Linked DNA regions of Homo sapiens: region 2 is linked to region 1. Evidence: promoter capture Hi-C in human tissues and cell types (Jung and others, 2019). All regions are on one chromosome and are shown on one strand. Each heading gives the region's core, a stretch centred on a gene start or on the middle of the fragment in contact. The rest is flanking DNA. Distances are from core to core; before and after follow the strand shown. Region 1 holds the start of MATN2 (matrilin 2). Region 2 overlaps PTDSS1 (phosphatidylserine synthase 1).

Evidence for each region. Contacts are between HindIII fragments. The study calls those that stand out against the background at their distance.
Region 2: a fragment that was not itself captured here is called in contact with the fragment with the promoter of MATN2 in region 1 in 1 of the 25 tissues and cell types used here (dorsolateral prefrontal cortex).

The regions. Positions count from the first base shown.
Region 1 is chr8:97,864,843-97,872,142 of GRCh38, reverse strand. MATN2 (matrilin 2) reads right to left here and starts at 3,079. Exons shown (of 19, transcript NM_002380.5): 1 at 2,856-3,079. It also overlaps the pseudogene RPS23P1. RefSeq lists an enhancer at 3,479-3,978. The HindIII fragment of the contact is 19,586 bases long and covers 1-7,300 here.
Region 2 is chr8:96,323,390-96,330,689 of GRCh38, reverse strand. It overlaps PTDSS1 (phosphatidylserine synthase 1), which reads right to left. Exons shown (of 13, transcript NM_014754.3): 11 at 409-477. Among named protein-coding and RNA genes, the nearest start is that of PTDSS1, 65 kb to the right of the region's middle. RefSeq lists enhancers at 2,338-2,873, 2,874-3,409. The HindIII fragment of the contact is 4,346 bases long and covers 1-3,868 here.

The DNA of each region.
Region 1 (7,300 bases), core at 1,830-4,329:
ATTTGACAGATGATATAAACCAAGGCTCAGACAATAATAGTAAGTATAGCTAACAAATATTGAGCATTTATTCTGAGCTAGGCACTGAACACCTGTTAACTAATTTAATTCTCCCAAAAAATCCAGTCTTCATTTACAGATGAAGAAACAGATGTCAGGCACAGAGAGTCTAAGTAACTTTCCAAAATCTTTGCAGGTATGAGGGGCTAGAACTGCAACCCAGGTCTTTCGGGTGCCAAGAGCAGTGTGCTTTGGGTTGTACCCCAACTCCATCTCATCCATGTCAAAGCCACTGTCATAGTCATTAACACCAATTACTGGCAACAGCCCAGCCCTGCCATTCCATCTGAGCCCCCTTCAGGCAGTATTGGCTGTCTGCCGAGCCACATGGCAGGGTTCAAGGATGGCCTCATGGGCTGAAGCTCCAAGTGGCAAGTGGCCCCTTGGAAGGACCTCCCTGGCACCATTCACTAGCAACAGCAATGACATTCCCCATTCTCCCCTTGGCATATGCTCAGCCTCCCTCTTTCCCTGGCCCTCCTGAGTTATCTTGCCATATGCTTTAAACAGGGGAGTCCTCCATAGCTTCCCTAGAAGACGGGGAATCCCTGGAAGGGACGCTCCTGCAGGTGCTACAGATCAGAGGGCAGTGAGTGCCAGGGGCAGCACTAGAGGCTCTCTGCCAACTTGACTGGTCTTAAACCACTCACCTCTCCTACTGCTTGCCCAGCCTCATACCCAACACCTTGCTCAGGCCAGCGTTAGACCTGTCACACCCTCTTCGGCCTGCTTTTCCTGAGGCCTAAGCCGGTCTCTCCCCCTTTTAGTCTCCCCACCTCACTCCTTGCCCTCTCTTAGGTGCCAGTCAGAACTGTTTCTAAATAAACTGTAGAATTATTTTTCCAGAACCTCCAATGGCTCTCTTATTTCAAAGAGCAAACATCTCTCCTTTTCTTTAAATCTCAGGCCACACTTTTAACTACCTTTTGCTAAACAAGGACATATGGCACTCGCTGATAAGAGCTTAGGGCATGACAGCTGCTCGAGGGTGTTTCAGATTTGGACTCTGCTCTGACACCTCCAACAAGCAAGCTTAGGCCTTGGTGGCCCTGGGTTGCCTGGGAACAAGAAACCCCAGAGCCCCGATTTATAGAAGACAGTGTCCTGGTAACTCGGGGGCCTGAGATTGAATTCTATTGGCAGAAATAAAAGTAAAAAGTGTGGACAGATAGGAAAATGCAAGGTGAAGAGCCATAAGTATCTCATTCTCCACAGAGGATTCTAAGTGCCAAGTTTCAGGGACTGAGAGGAAACATTCCAGGTCATAAACCCATGTTGGTATTTTGACATGGTTTTATGAGGTTGGCCCTTTGGGAGCAAGCAGGGAGAACTGCGCCCGTGTGGACTCCTGCATGGAACTACCAGTTGCATACACGTGGCTTATCTGCCACCCTCACGTACCCATGGAGAGCCTCTCTTTCTGAACTGGGGAAGAGGTACATTCACTGCTCATAGCAGCTCCTTGCTATTTCTGCAAAGACAAGCCATGGAACTCACCTAATCTTAGAATGCTCCTGGAAATGTTCTAAGGACTTTACTTGCCATATCTTTTTTTTTTTCTTTTGAGACGGAGTTTAGCTCTTGTTGCCCAGGCTGGAGTGCAATGGCACCATCTCCGCTCACTGCAATCTCTGCCTCCTGGGTTCAACCGATTCTCCTGCCTCAACCTCCCGAGTAGCTGGGATTACAGGCATGCGCCACCAAGTCCGGCTAATTTTGTATTTTTAGTAGAGACGGGGTTTCTCCATGTTGGTCAGGCTGGTCTCGAACTCCCGACCTCAGGTGATCCGCCCGCCCCGGCTTCCCAAAGTGCTGGGATGACAGCCCTGAGCCACCGTGCCCGGCCGCCATATCTCATTTAATCCTCACAGTTCTGTGGGTATTACCATCCTCATTAGACAGATGAGGAAACTGAGGCATACTTGGGTACCTTCAAGTTATCAACCCTGTAAACTTCACAGCTGGGGTTGAAACCCAAGCAGGCTGACCCCAGTCTCTGCTCTCGACCACGGGTCCCTGAAGTCTCTTGACTGCCCCATTCCTTAAAGGCCGATTTTAAGTGTGCTTGGTGCAGATGCATTGTGGCTTCCTGATTTATGACAAATTGAAACTTGGTCAATTGGGTTTGTTCAGGGTGGGCGCGAGTGTCCCTGAGGAGAGCACTTTCCTGTGCCCCCAGTCCTGGAGACCCTACCAGGGACAGTCCCCATTTCTCTGTCCTCTCCCCAAACGGCTCCAAATTGTTCTGGGGTTTCTAGCAACTACCACAAAATGCCTTCCCCTTTCTCTCCCTCTTCCACAATATAGGGAAGCTGGAGGTTTAGCTGCCATAGAGACCCAAGAACAAAATCCAGATGACACGGGCATGAAAATACCAGGTTCCGAAGAGGGAAGGGGGAGCCATCGGCTGTCCGTGGAATAGGAATCACCCTGCATACCCGCTCAACAGGTCTCCCTTTCCCTGGGTCGCGGTGGCCGGGGTCTGGGCGTCCCCGCTGCGTGCCACAGCGCCCCCACGGGGCACTCCGGGGCGGCTGCAGCGCGGCTTGTCCTGCGCAGGGAGCGCGCCCAGCTCTCCCGGCCGAGGGGTCGGGCAGCGCCGCCCTCCCTCTCCCCCTGTCCTCGGAGGGGTCGAAGGCGCCGGGGCCCCGGGGCGCTGGGGGCTGCAGTGCGGGCCTGGGGAGGGCGCCTGCGCGTCGGGCAGCCCAGGCTCGGTATTCTGTCGGTGGGTCGGTCCGCCTGCACTTCGAGGCCGCCCGGCCGCGCAGAGCCGGGGGAAAGCGCGCCGCGCTCACCTGCAGCCGCCGGCGCCTGGGAAGCGAGGCAGGGGCGCAGCCACCCGGGTCTTCCTCGTCGGCCTCTTCGCCTCGCCGAGGGCCGCGGCTCTCCTCGGGGATCGCTCGTGGGAGGCGAGGACGGAGCCCCAGCTTCTGCCTCTGCCTCTGTCTCCGCCGCCGCCGCTTGCTCCAAGTCCCATCCCAGAGCGCTCCCTTCGCTCGCTGGCTGCCTGGGAGGCGCTGGGCAAGGGCGGGCGGCTGGGGAGGCGGTGCCGCGGCGGGGGTGGGGAGCGGGCCGGGCGGAAGGAGGGGTGTCCTCTTTGGGGATGGGGAAGGCGCGGAGAGGGAGCGGCGGCGAGGGCGGCCCCACCCTGTGGGCAGCCCCGGGAGCTGGGCACTCTGGCGGCGCGCCCTGCCTGCTGCCACCTGGCTCCACTCCGTCCGTGCCTGAGCCCAGGCGGGCATCAGACTCCAGGGGTCCGGAGCCGCAGGCACGGAACACAGGCAGCTTTAGGGGCCTGTCGGGTTGGGAGTGCGGGGAGGGGTCTTCTGGGGGAAAGGAGACATGGCAGGAATCTTACATCTAGAACTTGGGGTCATGACCTGCGGGACGCACCCACTGACGCGGGGATGGAGAAAAAAGTGGTGAGAATTGGGCTAATTGATGACAAGCGCCAAGAGCTGTCTTGCCAGTGCCCAGAGCACCCCACCAGTGCCAGTTCATATTAACAGAGCGTCCACTGGCTGGGGACCAGGCCCCGGGATGGGGAGGAGGTAAAGATGCCAGGATGGAGAGGAGACAAAATTCCTACCCCGAGGGAGCAGGGAAAGTCTAGTTCAGACAAGACTTTTGAAATTATGAGCAGAGACATTTGCAACTTTGCAGAATGGAGGAACCTCACCTTGGATGTCCCCATGGAGCCTTGGAGGGATGCAGAAGACAGGATTGGCCAGCGACAGTCAAAGTGGCCGGCACCCCCCTCTACCAGCTCCCCAGTTCCTGGAGGCTGGGGTGAGTGGATGTATAACAGACCAGGACATCTCCTATAAAGCTCCAAAATTCTGTTCCCAAACCACTAGCCAACGCACCCAGTTCAGGTTTTGTGTTTTTGTTTGTTTGTTTGTTTTTTGAGACGGAGTCGCCCAGGCTGGAGTGCAGTGGCGCAATCTTGGCTTACTGCAAGCTCTGCCTCCCGGATTCACGCCATTCTCCTGCCTCAGAGTAGCTGGGACTACAGGCTCCCGCCACCACGGCCGGCTAATTTTTTTTGTATTTTCAGTAGAGACGGGGTTTCACCGTGTTAGCCAGGATGGTGTCGATCTCCTGACCTCGTGATCCGCCCGCCTCGGCCTCCCAAAGTGCTGGGATTACAGGCGTGAGCCACTGCGCCCGGCCCCAGTTCAGGTTTTAACAAGCTACCAGCAGAGGCAGCAGCACTAACTAGTTTCAAAACCTCTGGATGTGCCACAGTCTGATAATTTGGTGCTTTGGGCGGACTTTGTTTTGTAATTAACCATCATTCCTATTTGATGATAGAGTTGATTTCTGAAATATGAATAAACGCCAAAATCAATTCTTCAGAAAAGCTCCAGGAGGGGTAATTAAAATTCCAGCCATGAAGCAAGGGGTTAACATACTCGAGCCATCAGGCAAGTCAATGATACCTTAATACCAAGAAAGAATTGTGGATTCCTGTTCCTTTACCCAGTACCTTAGGCCCACTGGGCACTCTTGGCTGCCTGCACTGATCACAAATAGTTTTTTTGTTATGTCTTTGGGAGGAGGTAGGTGGAGGTCAGAAAGCAGAGGAAAGTCTTCAGGAAATGTTTGGTCTCTGAAGTCTTGGATCCCATAGAAGAAAATTCTTCCTGAGTCTGGGCCAGTGAAAATCCCCTAGGAACTTGGGAAGTTGAGCTACAGTTTATGGAAACTTAAATTTAAAATGTGTTGACTTATTCCAAGACACCAGTGTGATCCAGTAATTTACCAGGAAAACAATAACAATCCCCAAACCCTTCCAAATTGTAAGGAAATTGTAATTTAGTAACTGATTCCAGTGACTCTGGTGTATGCCAATTAAAATGGGTGTTTTCCCCCCAGGGAGTTCTATTGGAATTCTTCAGAATAGTTAATCTATGTACAAATTACACTTGGGGCCAAGTCAAATAGGTTAAATGAGTTGTTCTACCTTGTGGGATGATCTTCAGGTCTGCCAGAAAAAAATGAAGGAAAAGCAAGTTCAATGTCCTGAAATATAAAGGCAGAACAAACAATGAAATGATTTCTGGGTTACCTTCAGGATGAATTGCAAGTTGATAATTAAGACTATAGATTAGGAAAAGGCCAAAATTGCCTTTTCTGCTAGAGGTCCTGCCATGTGCTAGATGTACAGAGAACCTTATTCAGAAGTGTGGGTTTAAGATTTTTAGTTCTGGGACTGGGCGATGGCTCACACCTGTAATCCCAGCACTTTGGGAGGCTGAGGCGAACTGATCACTTGAGGTCAGGAGTTCTAGACCAGCCTGGTCAACATGGTGAAACCCCGTCTCTACTAAAAATACAAAAGGTAGCCGGGTGTGGTAGTGGGCGCCTATAATCCCAGCTACTCAGGAGGCTATAATCCCAGCAACTCAGGAGAATCGCTTGAACCTGGGAGGCGGAGGTTGCAGTGAGCTGAGATTGTGCCACTGCACTCCAGCCTGGGCAACAAAACTAGAGTCCATCTCAAAAAATAAAAATTAAGAATAATAATAATAATAATAATACAAAAATTATCTGGGTGTAGTGGCATACGCCTGTAATCTCAGCTACTCGGGAGCCTGAGGCTGGAGAATCACTTAAACATGGGAGGCAGAAGTCGCAATGAGCCGAGGTTGCACCACTGCACTCCAGACTGGGTGACAGAGTGAGACTCTGTCCCAGAAAGAAAAAAAACAGATTTTCAGTTCTTATGTGGGCACTCATGTAAGCAGACAAAAATGAGGTATGTATTATCTGAGAACTCCTAAGAGCTCACAAGTTAACTGGAATTGGTATCTGTTTAAACTAATCACAACCTGAGTAGCTATACTTGGGATCAACTCTCAGTTCTCGATCTCCACGTAGTCTATTGTGGAGTAAGGATTTGGGTCAGGAGAGTCATTTGACCCAGGCCTCACACTCGTGAACAGCCTCGAATATAGACTTTAAACATAAGCATCCCTTTGCTCCTTGTAAACATTAGAACTTTTTGTTTTGCATTAGAATCCTTCTTACTTGAGACCTAGCTATCTGGCCTAGAGGGCAGATTGAAATGAGACTGTCAAATCCAAAGGGGACCAGAGTACAGTATAAGGAAACTGAAGAAGAAACAGGTTGCCTCACGGACCTATAAACCTAAAATAAAGCTCTACTGAATGCATGAGGAGACATGTAAAATTGCAATGTCATCTCACGTGCACTGTTTCCCTAGGTGACAGACAGTGTTTGAGTCCTATGTAAACTATTAGAGCTCCTCCCTGTCTCCCTCAAGTAGAAGGCCAGGAGAGGAAACATCTTCATATCCGGCCAGCTGCCCATTTGTTGGAGCTGGAGATGCAGGGTTAAGGGAATGTTCCAAGGTAGTGGATGAGCTTGGACTCCAGCCCAGGGAGGGGAACCCTGTAGGCAGGGCAGAGCTCCCTTTGGGATACCCCATCTACATGGACAGTTGGGTCCATGTCCAGAGGGTTCCTTTGAGGACAGGCTGACTGATGGCACCATTGTCCCAGGTGACATAATTTCTTTTTTTTCTTTTTGGCATATGAACATTTATTACTACAGTGTTTTCACCATTAAAATTTATGATCTTGGTCTTTCCTTCTTGCCTTTGTATAGGGCCAAAAGAAAGACACAGGCTACTTTGACAACCTGAAAGCGAACTCCAGAAATATCACCAACAGCATGACCTTTTTGACCAAATCCAGCAACCAGAGCTTTATGGTTTTCCACAATAAGGTTCAAGCAACCATCACTGAATACAAAGGCTGTGATTTTCTTGCCATCCTTGATCCACTGGACCCTGACACACTTCCTAATGGCAGAATTTGGCTTTTTGGCTTCAACTCCTACTTTTCCCAGCACAATTCCTTTTGCATGAGAAGCACCTCCAAAAGGGTTGGCCTTCAGGGCTGTGCCCAAATGGGCTTTCTTGTACTGTTTATCATGCCACTTCTGATCTTGTTGGTGACTACAGAGACTCCTAGCAGTATGAGGTCCACGACACTTGCCCATCCTGCAGTGCTACGGGCCTGAGCAAAAGAGAGAAGCAGCTGTCCCAGGTGAAGTAATTTCTAAATAAACATATCCCATCTTGGAAAGACAGGATGAAAGTGATCAGGAAAAAAACTACAGCAAGTTGAAAATTTGTTCAAGAAAACAATACTCATTTCAAAGGGGACTCAAATGTTTTTATGTGATTTTGACTTGGACCATGAGCTCCTGA
Region 2 (7,300 bases), core at 446-2,945, 1.5 Mb after region 1:
CTCATATCTACTAAATGAAGGTCAGGGCAAGCGTTTGCCCAGAAGAGCCACAGGCCGGAACACAGGAAGAGGCCTCCACACAGTTCAAGAGCTGGGGAGAAAACCCAGCTTCCAAAAGCCAGTCCACAGCTTTCCCATCACTTTTCTTTTTTTCTCCAAACAAACATAACTTTTTTTATCTAACAAAAGTTAGACAAAAATATTGGTCTACTGAACAGAGCCGTCACAAGCAGGGCCAGCAATGGCTAGGGAATGAGTTGTGACATGCGGTTTCTGCAGTGGCAGGACTGGAGGCCCCAACCTCAGTGTTTACCTCGCCATATCCTTACAGGCACGTGCTCTGAGCGAATTTGCCGAGCCCGGGGTGATTATTTTAAACAATGGCCATGCCTGCCTCTCCTTCCATACCTTTTCTCGGTGACCATAGTGTTCTGCATACCAAATCATGCCGTACAGACAGAGGAAAGTGGTGAAAGCCTGGAAGAGAAAAACAAATGATGCTGCACAAAAAAGTTCAATTTCCCAGAACTTCAGGGTTTCAGTGGGAATCAATGCAGGACCGTTCAATGCATTTCTGCCGTCTGGACGCCGGTTACAAAACGGCTGGACGTGGCAGAGATCAGACCTCAAGGGGAGGGTGCACACCCAAAGCTTCTGACAACAAAGGTTATGATGAGACCACAGTTACTACCTGTGACTCTACTATCAGAAAGCAAGAAAGACAATTTTCAGATGTGCAATATGGTGGGATGCATTTTCTTGATAGCTTTGCGGGTTCTGTTGAAGAAGATAGAGAGGATTCTATGTTCTAGTTCTGATTTTCAGGGTCCATTCTCTCCCGGCTTCCCCATCACAGGAGAGCGCTAAGAGGACTCAGTGTGTCAGCTTCTAGGGGGAAGAGGTCACAGCGGCACCTGAGGGCCCACGGACAAACACTCCCAGGGTAGAGGGTGGGGAGCTTAGCTGGACAGGGCTGCCCTTGCTTTTCCAGGCTTTTGAGTGGACCCCAGTTTTTATTGCTTTGTTTTTCTTGGTTATATGGATAGGAAAACAAAGAGAAAATAAAGATGCTCTTAAGGCCCTGAGTGGAATGAGGAGGGTGTGGCCTGTGGGTGCCCAGAGGCAGGGACAACCTCTACTCCACACTTGCCCCACTCACTGGGCCTGCCCCCACACCCTAAATTATACCCTAATTTAAGGAAAGAAAAGCACAGACAAGAATCCAAAGTTTCAAAACATGTCAAAAAATCAAAGCTTAGGAAAAGTCTCCAGCTGCCTGGACTGCATACCAAAGGCAGGAGGGAGGGAGGGTGAGCGGTAGAGCAGGGCCATGAATCTCCCCGGCCACACCTTCCCCACTGCAAGCAAAGCAACCAGAACAAAACAAGGCAACTGCCAGCTCCTTCCAAATTCCTCACTCTAGAAACCCATTCACATCAAGCCATCCTGGCTGTTGAGCCTCCATCTCTCCCCCTGCATTTCCTGTGGACACCTGGGCACCTGTCATTTTCCTGGACCCCTCTCATCTTGCACCAACTGTGGGGACAGCTGTGAGAGCATGGAGGGACCTTCTCAAGGAAATAATTTTAGTTCTAAGAATCATAACTTTAGATCCAAAAGGTCACCTCAGAGACCATTAATTTCATTGCCCCTCATTTTCCAGAAGAAGAATGAAAGCTCAGAGAGGTGAACATTGGAGCCGGAACTCAGATCTCTTGAAACCCCCGGATCTGGGTTTAAGGGATGGCTACTGATACAAATATTGGCTTTATGTCTATATAGCTTTATTTCTCCATCCATGTATCCATCCCTGAGAACGAAAAGCATCATGGGAACAGTGAACAGCAGCAGCTTCTCCTCTGCACAGCCACAGTCTGGTGGTAGGGCGGGAAGGCAGGGGCTGTGAATTCTCATCATGGCAGCTTGCAGTCGAGCTTTGGCCCAGTTCCTTTATCAGCGACATTTCCTGGCAGCTGCTGGATACACAGTGCCTTCTTAGTTCCAAAAAAGAAAGGAGAGCAACACTCTGGCTAGCTGTCCTCTTCCGTGCCAGTTACGTGGAAGCAGGAACAGTGGCAGCGTGGAGAGAGAGTGAGAAGCACAAGCAGCGCCACTGGTTCATTTCCTACTAAACCCACGTGCAAACTGGCATATACCTACAGGTTAGGGATTTATTAAAAAGCTCATATCCATCAAAAAATTAGGCCACGAATGAATACATTAAAACTACAAAGTGAAAATGACTTCCAACCTTTAACATACTCTAATGCTTGCCCAGATTTCTTAGATATACCAACGTTAAGTGTGCCATTTTCATGGCATGGAAAGAGTGGGAAGGACTAGAAATGATTTGCAGAGTGTAAGCCTGTGTATGCGTTAGGCCCCTTACAAAGAGCAAAACAGAACATTCTGGGTTTCACACAGCGGACTGGGGGGGTTAGGTTCCACCTCCCCAAACGAGAGGGCTGTGGGGAGGCGGGTCCCTCAACTAGACTGTCATTGCAAACTCTGACCACCAGAGGGCAGGCACGCGGGGCTCTTCCCTTCCCCAGCCCCAGGCCCAATATGACAGGCAGTGGCAGCTGCCGCTCCCTCCAGCGGCAAACAGCAGGCAAGTGGAGAACGACAGGTGCTTATCATCACAATCGTCACACAAAGGGTCTGTTGTGATTGCCAAATCTACTTCACCTGCGTACAAAGAGGCCCATTTTACACTTGTCCCAGCAAACGGAAGCCGGTAATTTACAGGTTTGCAATCACACCTGTGGAAATCTAGGCACGTACCCACTGAAAATGTCAAGGCTCAGATTTAAAATAGCAATTGCACACTTCGTTTAAAGAAAGGGCGGGGGGGCGAGAAGAAACTACGTGGGATGAGAGCCAGGCTGTCCAGGACCACGGGGCTGGCGGCAAGGAGGGCGCAGGACCCCAGCTTGGCTTCTACATTATGGTAATGAGCATTCAAATTAATGACGGCCGAGCAGACAACCACGCTCCTGGAAAAGCTTATTAACCAGCACCCGGGATCTTTGCTTCTGCATTAATCTCAAGCTCCGTGTGCGCTCTCTTACCAGGCCAGGGGAGTAATTAGGGGCTTTGCTTTTCTGAGTGGGGCAGAAGGCATGGTGTAACTTGAAGCTCTCTTATTGAATAATGTTCGCCTCTACTCCTGAGTCTGCGATCAATCTTGCTCTTTATAATAAAGGTCAGGAATATTTTAAAAAGTGCCAGGACCTTGTTTCTGTTCTTCTTTAAAGGGAGGCAGTGGAGACCCCTAATCATCCTGTCTCAGGGCCTCTTTTCGGGCGACGTCCCTCTCTCATGTCTCATCCTGTAAGTCTAATCAGAGATTCTGCCTGTCTTCAAAATCCTGCTCATCGTCCCCGGCCTGACCTCTTATTAAGGTATCCCAGCCTCAGTCAGCTCCTCTCCCAGAGGCATGTTCCCTGAGCTCTTAACCTAATCCCAGGACTCCAACTGCACCCTCCACATGGGCTCCTCCCAAGTATTTTATTTCCACCAACGACCAAATCCTTCCAGTGTTATTGACAGATTAGAATTTCCCATAAAACAGGACACTTCCACCTGTAAATTCTAAAGGTTCCTCAAACCCAAATCCCCTGAACCAAATTCACCTCCTCCTTTCAATGGGCTTCTCCTATATCCTCCAATCTGTCGCTAGCACTGGTGGCCACCCAGTGGCACCAGTTAGAACCTTTGGAGTGGCACTCAAGTCCCCTCCCAGCTACCACAAGAGGAATGGCATCCTGTTGAGCACATTCCTTAAACAACTCTCAGATCCAGCCCTTCCTCTGCATCTTCAATGCCTCTGCCTTGGTTCAGCTTCAGTTACTTGTCAACTAGGCCTGGCAGCACCTCTGACTGTACTTCTTCCCCCCAACCCATCTTCCCTCTAGACTCTCCCAGCCTCCATGGTGTTTCCCCATGAGACACAGATCAGACCACATTGTTTCCCCGCTTGAAAATTGCTGGGGCTGCAACTACAGCCGCACAAAGCCCTTCCTAAGCAGGGGACCCTGTCCTACTCTTCATCCAACTCTTCACTGTCACTCCTCAAACAGGTCACCACCTTCCTGAGCCACTGGGCACTCTCACAGCTTCCTGTCTTTGTATGTTTGCCCCCCAGCCACCTGCATGTCGCAAGTTTTTGTCTCTTGAACTCACTCCTTTATTCTCCACGAAGCTGCCGAGTGCTTCCTATGCACCAGGCACGGTGCTTGAGACAGTGGGGCCAAAAGATGACTTCAACTTATTCTCTCTGAGCAAGGAGTGCAGTGTGGAGGAGACAGATAGAAAAAAAACAAATTCCACTGCACTGGGGTTAGAACTGAGAGTTACGTACAAAGCACTACTGGTCCCAAGGAGGGAGCTATCTACTTGCCTTGGAGGTCAGAGCATATTTCATGGGGGTCATATGTTTAAGTTGGTTTTGGGGTATCAGTTTCATCATGTAGATAAGGCAGGGAAAGTCTTTCAGATCAGGCAGAGAAAACAGCGTGGGAAGGGCAAAAGAAGTCTGGAAGGATGACTTGTTTAGGTAACTACCAGCAGACAAGTGCAGCCTGAGAATAGAGTACACGTGGGCAGATGTGATGGAATGCTCCCACTATGAAGGTCCTGAACACACAAGCAGATTTCATAATTCATCTGGGAGGTTTCGTGGTGGGGAGCCTTCTTCCTTCTTGAAGTTTCTTCTTGTGTGGAGGAAGCTTCACTGCTTCCCTCCACCCCTCACTCCTTCCCTGGGGAGAAGTCACACCTTGAATGGTGACTAAGGAAGCCGGCATTTCCTGAAAAAGGTGAATTCTCACTAATGAAGATGCTACTCTGATCCCCATAACTTTCCTCTATCTTGCTTATCTCTTACTTATTTTTTAACTCAGGTGGGGAAAAAGATTGTGTTATTGTGCCCTCTCAAGCCCCCAGCCAGAGAGAATGATTCTTAGCAGGGGAAAGAGATTGAGTTCTGAATTTTGGAAGATCATTTTGACAGCAGCATGGAGAATGGATTTGGAGGGCAGAATGGCAAGAAAATGGGTGTCCTGACAGCCGCAGAGGCAGTGGGAATGGAGAGGAGATGGAGTTGAGCTGCATTGTCAAATTAACAGATCTTAGTGACTGGCTGATTCGAAGAGTGATGGAGGACAGGAAGCAGCCTCCAGGTTTTTAGCTGGGGCCTGGGGGGCTGGGGGAAAGCCAGCGGTTCACTGCAACCCTTAAAAATCCTGCTCACATATCACTAAGGAGCCTTCACCAACCCCCAGCATGTCTGTTGCTCTAAGTATCCTTTAGCCTTATGCACACAATCTTTTACAGTATTTATCACATATTAACATAATTAGTTTGCATGTCTAATTGCCATCTGAACTCAGAGATCCTTGGAGGGCAGTGATGAAGAGCAGTTCCCTAGAGAGAATGTCTGGGTTTGAGTCCTGGTTCTGCCACTTAACTACCTATGTGACCTTGGGCAAGTTAGTGAACTTCTTTGTGCCTTTGTTTCCTCATCTGTAAAAGAGGGATAATAAAATACCTTCCCTCAAAGTGTGAAGATCAAATGTGGAATTCATGACAGTGCTTAGAATGGTCTCTGGCACATAGTAGGCACCAGTAAATCTTATCACCGTCATCTATCTGTGTGGCTAGAGCCCCAGGCACAGCACGGAAGAGCACTCAGCAACTGTCTGTGAATGAAGCCCGGACTAAGAGGTCTGTACCAAGTGAAGCAGAGGTCAATGGGAGCATAAGAAATGGTGCATGTCCTCAATAAGTTACAATCACATAGATACAAAGGCTAACCCACAAAAGGAGATATATTCTAAGTGTCAAATAAGTAACAGAAAGTCTCTCTAAAACTTAAAGAGAAATTAGAGGGGTCCCTACAGTCTGAGTGACTGCTATGGTTTGAATGTCCTTGCCAAAACTCTCCTCGAAACTTAACTGCCAACTTAACAGTATTAGGAGGTGGGGCCTTTAAGAGGTGATAGGTCATGAGGGCAAAGCCCTCATGAATGGATTCAGGCTGTTATCTTGGGAGTGGGTTCCTGATAAAAAGGATGAGTTTGGCACTTCCCTCTCTGTCTGGTGCACTTGTTTCTGCCTTCTGCCCTTCCACCATGGGATGACCTCACTGGATGCCATTGCCATACTTTTGGACTTCCCAACCTCCAAAACTGTGAGCAGAATAAACTTATTTTCTTTTGAAATTACCCAGTCTGCAGTATTCTGTTATAGCAACAGAAAATGGACTAAGACAGAAAATCGGTACCAAAAAGTGGGGTGGTTACTATAACAAATACTTGAAAATATGGAAGCAGCTTTTGAACTGGCTAATGGGTAGAGGCTGAAAGAATTTGGAGGAGCAGGCTAGAAAAAGCCTGTATTGCTGTAAAGGGAGCATTACGGGTGATCCTGGTGAGGGCTCAGAAGAAAAGAGGGAAAGCCTCAGTCTTCTTAGAGATTACTTAAGCGTTCCCGACCAGAATGCTGGTAGCAATATGAACAGTCAAGGCCACTCTGATGAGGTCTCAAATGGAAATGAGGAGCAAGGATTGGAAAGTGGAGTAAAGGGCATCCTTGTCACACAGTAGCAAAGACCTTGGCTGAATTGTGTCCATGCCTGAAGGCTTTCTAGAGTGTGCAGCCTGAGGGCAATGAACTAGGATATCTGGTGGAAGACAGCCAAGCAGCAAAGCATTCGGGCTACTGTGTGGCTACTTCTGACTGCATACAATGAGATTCCAGAGGAAGGAAATGACTTAAAGACAATTTAAAATTAAAAGGGAAGCAGAATGGAATAATCTGGAAAATTCAAAGCCTGGCCATGTAAACAGTGAAAAAGCATATTCCAAACACTAAGGGTGGGGCCACGTGGCTGTTAAAGAGATTACCATGGAAAGAAAGAAACCAGGTGCTATTCATCAAGAAAATGTGAGGAAGATCCCTGAAAGCAAAAGCGTTTCAGAGATCTTCAAGGCTGCCCCTCCCATCACAGACCCAGAGCTCTAAGAGGGCAGAATGGTTTTCGGTTACAGGCCTGGGGAGCCCTCCACGGGCTCACTGACCAGGGCTACCTAGGGACTCTACTCCCACATTCTAGCAGAGTGCTCCTTGGCTGCCTTAGCTGTGGCTCAAGTGGGCCTTGGTGTGGCTTGGGCTACCACTCTGGGAGGGATAAGCTATAACCCATGGTGGTGTCCATGTGGTGTTAATTCTGCAGGTATGCAAAACGCAAGAGCTGTGGAGGCCATGGCTTCCTCCACCTAGATTTCAAAGGATGCGG